2 separate regions of the Homo sapiens genome follow, and region 2 is linked to region 1. The links are contacts of gene promoters, found by promoter capture Hi-C in human tissues and cell types (Jung and others, 2019). All regions are on one chromosome and are shown on one strand. The core of a region is centred on a gene start or on the middle of the fragment in contact, and the rest is flanking DNA. Distances in the headings are between cores, read along the strand shown.

What was found. Contacts are between HindIII fragments. The study calls those that stand out against the background at their distance.
Region 2: a contact is called between a fragment that was not itself captured here and the fragment with the promoter of ITIH2 in region 1, in 2 of the 25 tissues and cell types used here (dorsolateral prefrontal cortex and pancreas).

Annotation. Positions count from the first base shown.
Region 1 is chr10:7,700,238-7,704,655 of GRCh38, reverse strand. It overlaps ITIH2 (inter-alpha-trypsin inhibitor heavy chain 2), which reads right to left and starts at 1,340. Exons shown (of 21, transcript NM_002216.3): 1 at 1,138-1,340. The coding sequence starts at 1,221. The HindIII fragment of the contact is 26,123 bases long and covers 1-4,418 here.
Region 2 is chr10:7,561,288-7,565,775 of GRCh38, reverse strand. ITIH5 (inter-alpha-trypsin inhibitor heavy chain 5) reads left to right here. Exons shown (of 14, transcript NM_030569.7): 14 at 2,392-4,488. The coding sequence ends at 2,693. Among named protein-coding and RNA genes, the nearest start is that of LINC02642, 91 kb to the right of the region's middle. The HindIII fragment of the contact is 6,231 bases long and covers 1-4,488 here.

The sequences.
Region 1 (4,418 bases), core at 91-2,590:
GTGTCCAAATGGAGGGTAACAACACCTTCGCATTTGTTGGACATGGGAATTCATTTTTGAGTTTGCCAGCAGGTGGTAAGACAGAGATCAAAACAACCCAGTGATTAGGTGGGTGTCTGGGGAAGTATCTGGGTAGACCCTGGAGGCATTTGCAGTGTCTGACTGGACAGACATGAACCATACATCTCCCCAAGTTAAAAATGTAGGTATTTTCTAAAAGGAAATGCCAGTTAGAAATGACTGAAAAAGCACAAACACATTTGGATGTCTTGGCTTCAATTTGAGATTTCTAACACACTCTGGTGGCTTTTAAGTGTTGGAAAATATGATAGTTTCAAAGCAGACAGAGTGATATTTTCCCTTTGTAAATATGCCGTCATATTCTCTGGCATTTTTATAGGTAATCCACTCTGCAAGTATTATAAGCCTTTGCATTTGCTGGGATGTTCCCATAACATGCTTCGCTTTTCTGGCATAAAAATAGCTCTTGTATGACTTTCAGAAACAGACTTTCAGTCCAAGACTTTCCTTACATTGGAGATGGCTAAGGGACAAAAGTGGAGACCTGTACTCCATGGGAATTATTCTTGTACTTTTCCACCCTGCCTGCTATCTTCCGCTTTAATAGGAATACTTAAAGTGCTCTTATTACAAATATCACTGTTCACTTAGATATGAAAAACAGTGTGCTTTGATAATGACTTTTCTTATACTCTTAGTAAAAGAGTGATAATATTTCTTCATCATCATAACAGCTAGTAATTATTAAGCACTTACTAGTCCAGGCGCTCTGCTAGAAGAGTTTACACTGTGTCATTTAATTCTCAAAGCAAACCATTGGGTTAGGTCTATTCTTACCCCCAATTTTTTAGGTGAGGAGTGAGCAGCTCTGCTCCATAAATGCTACGCTCTGATGCCTGCCCATTGATCTTGACTTAATTTTCATGCAAAACCTGTTAATGCTTTAAAAGGTAAATATACATTCCAGTAATTATAACAGTAAACACTTGCACTCAGATGAATTTTATCTTAAGTTTCCATTACACACAGAATAAGGCCATTGAATAGCGATTCCAATAGATGATTTACTGAGCTCATGAACAAGCCAACAGCAAGGAGTGATCTGTAAGTACTTACTTCAGAAAGTCCATTTATGGGGATTTCGAAGCCTGATACTTCAGAAAGAAAGAAGCAGATGAAAAAGCACGTGAGTCTTTTCATTTTGCTGGACAGTTTTGCCAAGCTCCCCAAAGCAGATGGTCTGGGGAGGATATCACTTCTTCCTACTGAACCAAGTTCAAAGGAACAGCAGAGGAGTACAGTTCGCTTTAAGAAAGAAGAAAAAAGAAGAAAAAACTCTCTAACTTTGTTCAAAATTGGGACAAATATTTGTTCTGGAGCTCAAACTTGAGCTGTGTGGGTGGATCGAACACCCAGAGGTTATTCAAACAGCAAAGTCAGAAGCAGTTGCTTACTGTGAGGACAAGTCAGGGGCAGATGGATGTGCTTGAATGTGCTTGTGTGCTTTTATTTTATTTTTATTTTTTATTTTTTGGCTTTTGCTGATTTCTATTGATCTTAAAATCAGAGAGACCTACAGATAATTGTCATCCTTTCTAAAGGACCAAGTGCAGAACTATTCCAAGAAACAAAATCCTTTGATCTAAATGAAAGCAGGAAAAATTTAGAAAAAGTGGGAGAAGACACAGAAGGGTTTTTCTGAGCAAAGAATTCATTGTGCATGTTTTCCCCTATCTCTTTGATGACTGTCTACCTGTTACCTATAAAGACCCAGGCAAGTGGCTGTGCAGGATACTAGGGCAGATCTTCAGTGAGAATGCTTCGTGAATGTCTTTGATTAAGGTAACAGTGTCTGTCCTGCTGCCCCTATCAGCCGGGCTCAGGTCAGTGGCAAATCAATACTCCCCAGTCTCAGAATTGGAGTGCAGTGGTGAGATCAAAGCTCATTGCAGCCTCAACTTCCCCCGGCTCAAGCAATCTGCCCACCTCAGCCTCCAGAGTAGCTGGACTACAGGTGTGCACTACACTGCCTGGCTATTTTTTGTAGAGATGGGATTTCATCATGTTGCTCATCCTGGTCTTGAACACCTGGGCTCAAGCTATCTGCTTGCCTCAGCCTCCGAAACTGCTGGGATTCCAGATGTGAGCCCCCATGCCTAGCCTCCATCCTGGTCAGATTCTATTTTTCTTGCAACAAACAGGAAATGTAACTTCTTGGATGCAACACTGAAATAGGAAGCTCCAGCTGTGGGCAGAATTACAATACAAGGGAGGTTGTCTTATCCTCAGGACCAAGCACCCCAGGCCAACTTCTGGGATCCTGGAGCTCCTTGCTACATTTAAAGCCCAATTCACAGGGCATGCAACAGAGAGTTTTCTGCATTTTCCTCCCTAGTTTCCCCTCAGTCTTCGAAATTGCACAGCCGTGTGTCTGCTGGAGAAACATAACTTCTGAAATAATGGAAGGGAGAAAACAGATTCTCCCCTCCCTTGCCTAGGTTGGACTAGTTGAGCGCCCACCTTGGCCAGTGAGTGCCTCAGTGGACCCCTCATGGAAAAATCCTGCCACAGCTTTGCATTCTTGACTGAGATACTGTTTCTGGAGAATTAAGACCCAATGGCAGCTGGGCGCGGTGGCTCACACTTGTAATCCCAGCACTTTGGGAGACTGAGGCGGGTGGATGACCTGAGGTCAGGAGTTTGAGACCAGCCTGGCCAACATAGTGCAACCCCGTCTCTACTAAAAATACAAAAATTAGCCAGGTGTGGTGGCATGCGCCTGTAATCCCAGCTACTTGGGAGGCTGAGGCATGAGAATTGCTTGAACTGGGGAGGCGGAGGTTAGAGTGAGCTGAGATCACGCCACTGCATTCCACCTGGGCAACAGGGCAAGACTTGGTCTCAAAAGAAAAAAATAAATAAATAATAAAAAACCCAATGGCATGTTCTCCCAAAAACAGCAGTGACTTTCAAAATCATACCTCCTTCCATTGATCATTTCCTTTCTGATTATTTTAATCTGATATTCAGAATTATCTCAGAATAAACCAAACCAAAAGCAGGCTGGACTTTTTTCCATGCTGATACTCTGTCTTCAGATCCCAAAGTCCTTTTTTTTTTTTTTTTTTGAGAGGGAGCGTCACTCTGTGGCTCAGACTCAAGCGCAATGGCATGATCTTGGCTTACTGCAACCTCCACCTCCCAGGTTCACGCGATTCCCCTGCCTGAACCTCCCAAGTAGCTGGAATTACGGGCGTGCACCACCACAACTAACTTTGTATTATTTTTTTTAAAGTAAAGATGGGGTTTCACCATATTGGTCAGGCTGGTCTCAAACTCCTGACCTCGAGTAATCCACCTGCCTCAGCCTCCCAAAGTGTTGGGATTATAGGCGTGAGCCACTGTGCTCAGCCTGATCCCAAATTCTTGAAAACAAAACAAAACAAAACAACATTTGCTCTCTCTCTCAATGTTCAGAAGCACGACCGCGTAGGCTGTGTATTCAGGCTACTGAGTCTTGAACCTGAGACCCTTTCCCCTTGCACTCCCCACCCCACTGCCAACCCCTCCCATCATGCCTGGGCAGCTGTGACGTGGTGAATTGAATATATCCACTGATTTCTAGGATGGAAATCACTACCATAAATGCCACAAGAATATTCACTTTCACGTATGTGAAAATCAGTAGGAAATCTACAAGAAAAAAAATCACAATATTTCATAATGTTTGAACAAAGAGATAACATTTAGTACTCATTGGGAACTCTGGGAAATATCAACAAACTTGAGATTCATCACTGAGTGTAAGTCATTGTGGTTTAGCTGACAGTATAACAATAGCTGCCTCACATTTATAGCATTCAGCTCCAGCCCTGTCATTGTGAAAGAGCATGTTTGTAAAAGTCCAAAGTCAAAGCTGGATGAATTCACCAGAAAAATAGCTATATTTGACCCTGACCTGCTTGTTTGGTGGGTCAGGTTGCACATAACATGGAGCAGGTCTGTTTTCTACACATAGTTGAGCTGTGATGGCTTCCTCTGATTGTGAAGACATTTTGTTACATCTTCTTCAAGGATTGTCTGTTTGAATTTCCAAAGATGATATTTGATTACTCTGCTACATTTTTTTGTCCTCTGTAATGCAGAGGTGTGTTTTTTTTGGTTCTGTTTTTTTTTTTTTTTTTAGATGGAGTCTCTCTCTTGCCCAGGCTGGAGTGCAGTGGCACAATCTTGGCTCACTGCAAGCTCCGCCTCCCGGGTTCACGCCATTCTCCTGCCTCAGCTTCCCGAGCAGCTGGGACTACAGGTGCCTGCCACCACGCCTGAATAATTTTTTGTATTTTTAGTAGAGACGGGGTTTCACCATGTTAGCCAGGATGGTTTCGATCTCCTGACCT
Region 2 (4,488 bases), core at 1,490-3,989, 140 kb after region 1:
ATGCATATGTGTACATGCAGACTGCATATGTGTATATAGTCTCTCTATATAAATACATAATATATATTATATATGCAGTCTGTATATGTATGTGTATATGGTCTGTATATGTATGTGTGTGTATATATATACAGTCTATACATATATACATATACATAATGTATTATATATTATAAATATACATGTATATATGTATTATATATACCGTCTGTATGTATATATGTATACACAGACTGATAAGTATGTATATATACAGTCTATATATGCACACATATACATAATATATAATCAGTCTGTATATGTACATATGTATGTCTGTGTGTATATATACACAGTCTATGTGTATATATGTATGTATACTGTCTATGTATGTGTGCATGATATGTGTGTATATATACATACATAGTCTGTGTATGTATATATATATGTATACCATCTTTGTATGTGTGATGTGTGTGTGTATATATATATACAGTCTGTATGTATGGTGTGTGTATATATGTACAGTCTGTGTATATGTGTATATGTATGTATACACTCTGTGTATATATGTATGTATGATGTGTGTGTATGTGTGTGTATATATATATATATAGCCTGTGTATGTATGTGTGTTTATATATACAGTCTGTATGTATGTATGGTGTGTGTATATATACACAGTCTGTATATGTATGTGTGTGTGTGTGTGTATATATATATATACAGTCTATGTGTGTATATATGTATATATATATACAGTCTATGTATGTATATATGTATATATGTAGGTATACAGTCTATATGTATGAACGTGTGTGTATATGTATATGTATGTATACAGTCTGTGTATGTATGGTGTGTGTATATATATATATATACACACACAGTCTGTATATGTATGTATGTGTGTGTGTATACATATACAGTCTGTGTATGTATGTATATATGTATGTATGTATACAGTCTATGGTGTGTGTGTGTATATATACACACAGTCTGTATATATGTGTGTGTGTACACATACACAGTCTGTGTATGTATGTACATATTATATATATTCACACCCACCGACACACACAGTCATGCCTTGCTTAATGACAGGGATACATTCTAATGGTCGTTAGGTGATTTGGTCATTACGTGACCATCTAGAATATCCTTACACAAACCTCTCTAGATAGTGTCGCATACTACCCACTCAGCTAGGCTATGTGGTGTCTCCTATTGCTCCCGGGCTGCAAACCTGTACAGCATGTGACTGCATGGACTACTGCAGGCAATTGCAACACGATGATAAGTATTTGTTCATCTAAACATATCTAGACATAGAAAAGGTACACTAAAAATATGCTATTATAATCTTATGGGACCACCATCATATTTTCAGTCCATCATTGATTAAAATGTCATGATGTGGTGCATGACTATATATGTAACATGAAAATTACATATGTAATATGAAAATTCGATTACTATATATGTAATATGAACATTAGATTACTACATATGTAATATGAAAATTAGATTCCTTCCTGGGCTTTGTGAGCTAGGAATGGGCTTTATAAACCAGTAGTTCTCTTTAGCCTTCTGGAAAAATGAATGAGGAATTAAAATGTAGTCACCTGAGGGTCCAGTTCCTTTGCTCTCAGCAAGAATACACAGACACGAGGCAGCCCTGCCCAGCGCCCAGCCTGAGCGACACCCCCACCGGGGGGGCACCCACGTGGCCGTGCCCAGCAGGCGGGCCATTCTACCCAGCTTTCTTCAACGTGTAATTTCATGTGGGCCCCTTGCCCAAAAATAAAGAGCAAGCCATTGTCAGGGTTCAGTTTAGTAGGCAGGATTTCCTGGCTCTTGAGCTGGCCGCGTTTCGTGGGGCCTGGCGGCCCAGCATGAGCTCCCCTTGCAGACACAGCTCTTTATTCCTGTGGCCTGAGCAGTGCTGCCATCTGACCAGGAGAGTCCTGAGGACGAGGGTCAGAGAGGATCTGAGCTGACTGCTTTCCACCCCCACCCGGCACAGACCTGAGACGGATAGAAAGGAGGCGGGCCTGTGACTGGGAAGAGGACAGAGAGAAGATGGAACACTACTTCCCTCTTCATATGCCCCGTCCTGTCCTCTGGACTCAGTAGGAGACCGTGGTTATCACTATGTGTAGGTTACACAACTTTCTAGTGTTAGCAGCTGGGAAGCTTCCAGCAGTCATGGGTAAATCCCACAATGTGGATAAATCCTCAGCTCTCTCCACCCTGCCCCCCAGAGCACATGTTCTTCCATGTCACTGGGAGAGTCCAGTCTCGGGCTGTGGCCAGTTGTAAGCCTTTCTGCCACTGATAGCTCTGAAGTTGGAGTTCAGCACGAGGTTTCTGCATTTGACTGAGACCCGATGCTTTTCCTTGTCCTCCCAGGTCAGTTCCTGAATCAGGATGCCAGACTCACAGAAGACCCTGCAGGGCCCAGCCAGAACCTCACTCACCCTCTGCTCCTTCAGGTGGGAGAGGGGCCTGAGGCCGTCCTAACAGTGAAAGGCCACCAAGTCCCAGTGGTCTGGAAGCAAAGGAAGATTTACAACGGGGAAGAGCAGATAGACTGCTGGTTTGCCAGGAACAATGCCGCCAAACTGATTGACGGGGAGTACAAGGATTACCTGGCATCCCATCCATTTGACACAGGGATGACACTTGGCCGGGGAATGTCCAGGGAGCTCTGAAGCTGGCAGCCTTAAAGATGCAAGTGCATGAAGGACAGTGATGTGGGGAGGCCGTGGGGCAGCTCTTTTCATGGCTTGTACACGCCTCAGCTCCTGGCAATTAGCTGGACTCCATGACCCACCCCTGGTGCAGCATAGATCCGACGTCTGTCTGGGCGAAGGGTAGGGGTGGGTAGGGGCGGGAAGCCTGAGTGCAAATGTCATTTCCCTCTACTGCCTCTTCCTGCCTCTCCCCACCCTGCCCACATCCACAGAGGGGAGAGAAGGGTCATAGCTAAATGCAACAAAGTCTGTATCTTGTCCCAACCTGCTTTTCTGTTCTGTTAGCATATCATAAAGTAAGCCTTTCTGGTGAAGGAAGGTTGCTATGAAACTTTTTTTCTTGGTGGAAATGGACAAGTTTAGGCACTCTGCTTTTTGCCTTACACTAATGCTTAGAAAGCTGTCTTTTCAGTGGTGTTGCAGCCCCCAGATGTGTGGCCAACCTCTGCTGCAAAGGAATCTCTTGCTGAGTCCAGGCCACCAATCAGGCAAATAGCCCATACATTTGATCGTTGTAAACCATGAAGTCTTTTCTTGCAAGACGTTTTTCTTCTGCTGTGGTATCTTGCCCTTAAAAATTAGTTTTCATTAAAAAGAAATTTGATTGAAAATAGAAACATCTACAGCTCAGATACTGATCTCTTTCTAATGGGCTTTGTAAACCACTTGACTTTGCTAATGGCTATTCTCCAATTTGTTCCAATAAGCTAAGGGCTTTTCATACACAGGACAACTCCATGTGGTTGATTTTACTGGCATGTCTTGGTGACGAAGAGTTGGCCAAGTGAATGATGCATCTTTTACTTGGAGCTCTCCAGCCTTTGTCATAGTTCCCAGACCTTTTTTCCTTGTGGTCATCCAGGAGGTGATCAATTACATGTGCACAGTGCTAGGACGGGAGGCAGAGCCGGCTCAGAGCAGGTCCACCAGCCCACCTATAGCAGGAAGCGTGTCGGTGCTTAGGAAATCTAGGACTTCCAGCTTCCCTCATGTCAGATAGAAAAAAAGTCAGGAAACCAGCTCGTGGACAGGGGCTTTGGTTCCAAAACTTGGACAAACCTGATGCCTTAAGGAAAAGGTTAAGATGAGAGGGGACTTCCAGAGTCAATGAACGTCACCCTTCAGCGGACGGATACCGGGAGCGCTTGGGCGAAACAGCAGAGAAAGAAAGACTGTGGTCGGGGAAGTGGAATGCTTCGATGCAGGCCAGAGTTCAAGGCTCTGGGGCTGGCCTCACAAGAGGCTTCTTCCACGGGGCTTGACACCAGAGCAGCCCCCGCGTGAAATGAGAAGGCATGCTTAGCACTGGGAGGAAAAGCTGAGTTAAGAAAATTCTTTATCATGTTTGCCTTCCCTGGGGAAACATTCAGGCAGTAAAATGACATCCACGTGTTCCTGTCGGACGCAGCGGCTTCGGGAACAAGTTAGCGCTGGGGGACTATCTGGGCTCGTCTCTCTCTGCTTCGTGAACCCACCACACCAGGGCCTGTCTGCTGTGCTATTTATTTGCCTTCCGTCTTCCCAACCTCAGCTGCCTGTATTCATGCCAGAGGTGCAAAGGCTGCCAGCCAGTGCTGCTGACAGATGCTTTCAGACTGTAGAGCTCAGAGAAAGGGAGCGGCAGCTAGAGGTAGCCAGGGAGCTGGCCAGGCTCCCCGGGGCCTTCCTATTATGTAAATCCCAGCTGGACAGACAGCCCTGGAGCCAGGTGGCCCTGTCCCCTGTGGAGCACTTGGAGCAGTGATCTGTTGTT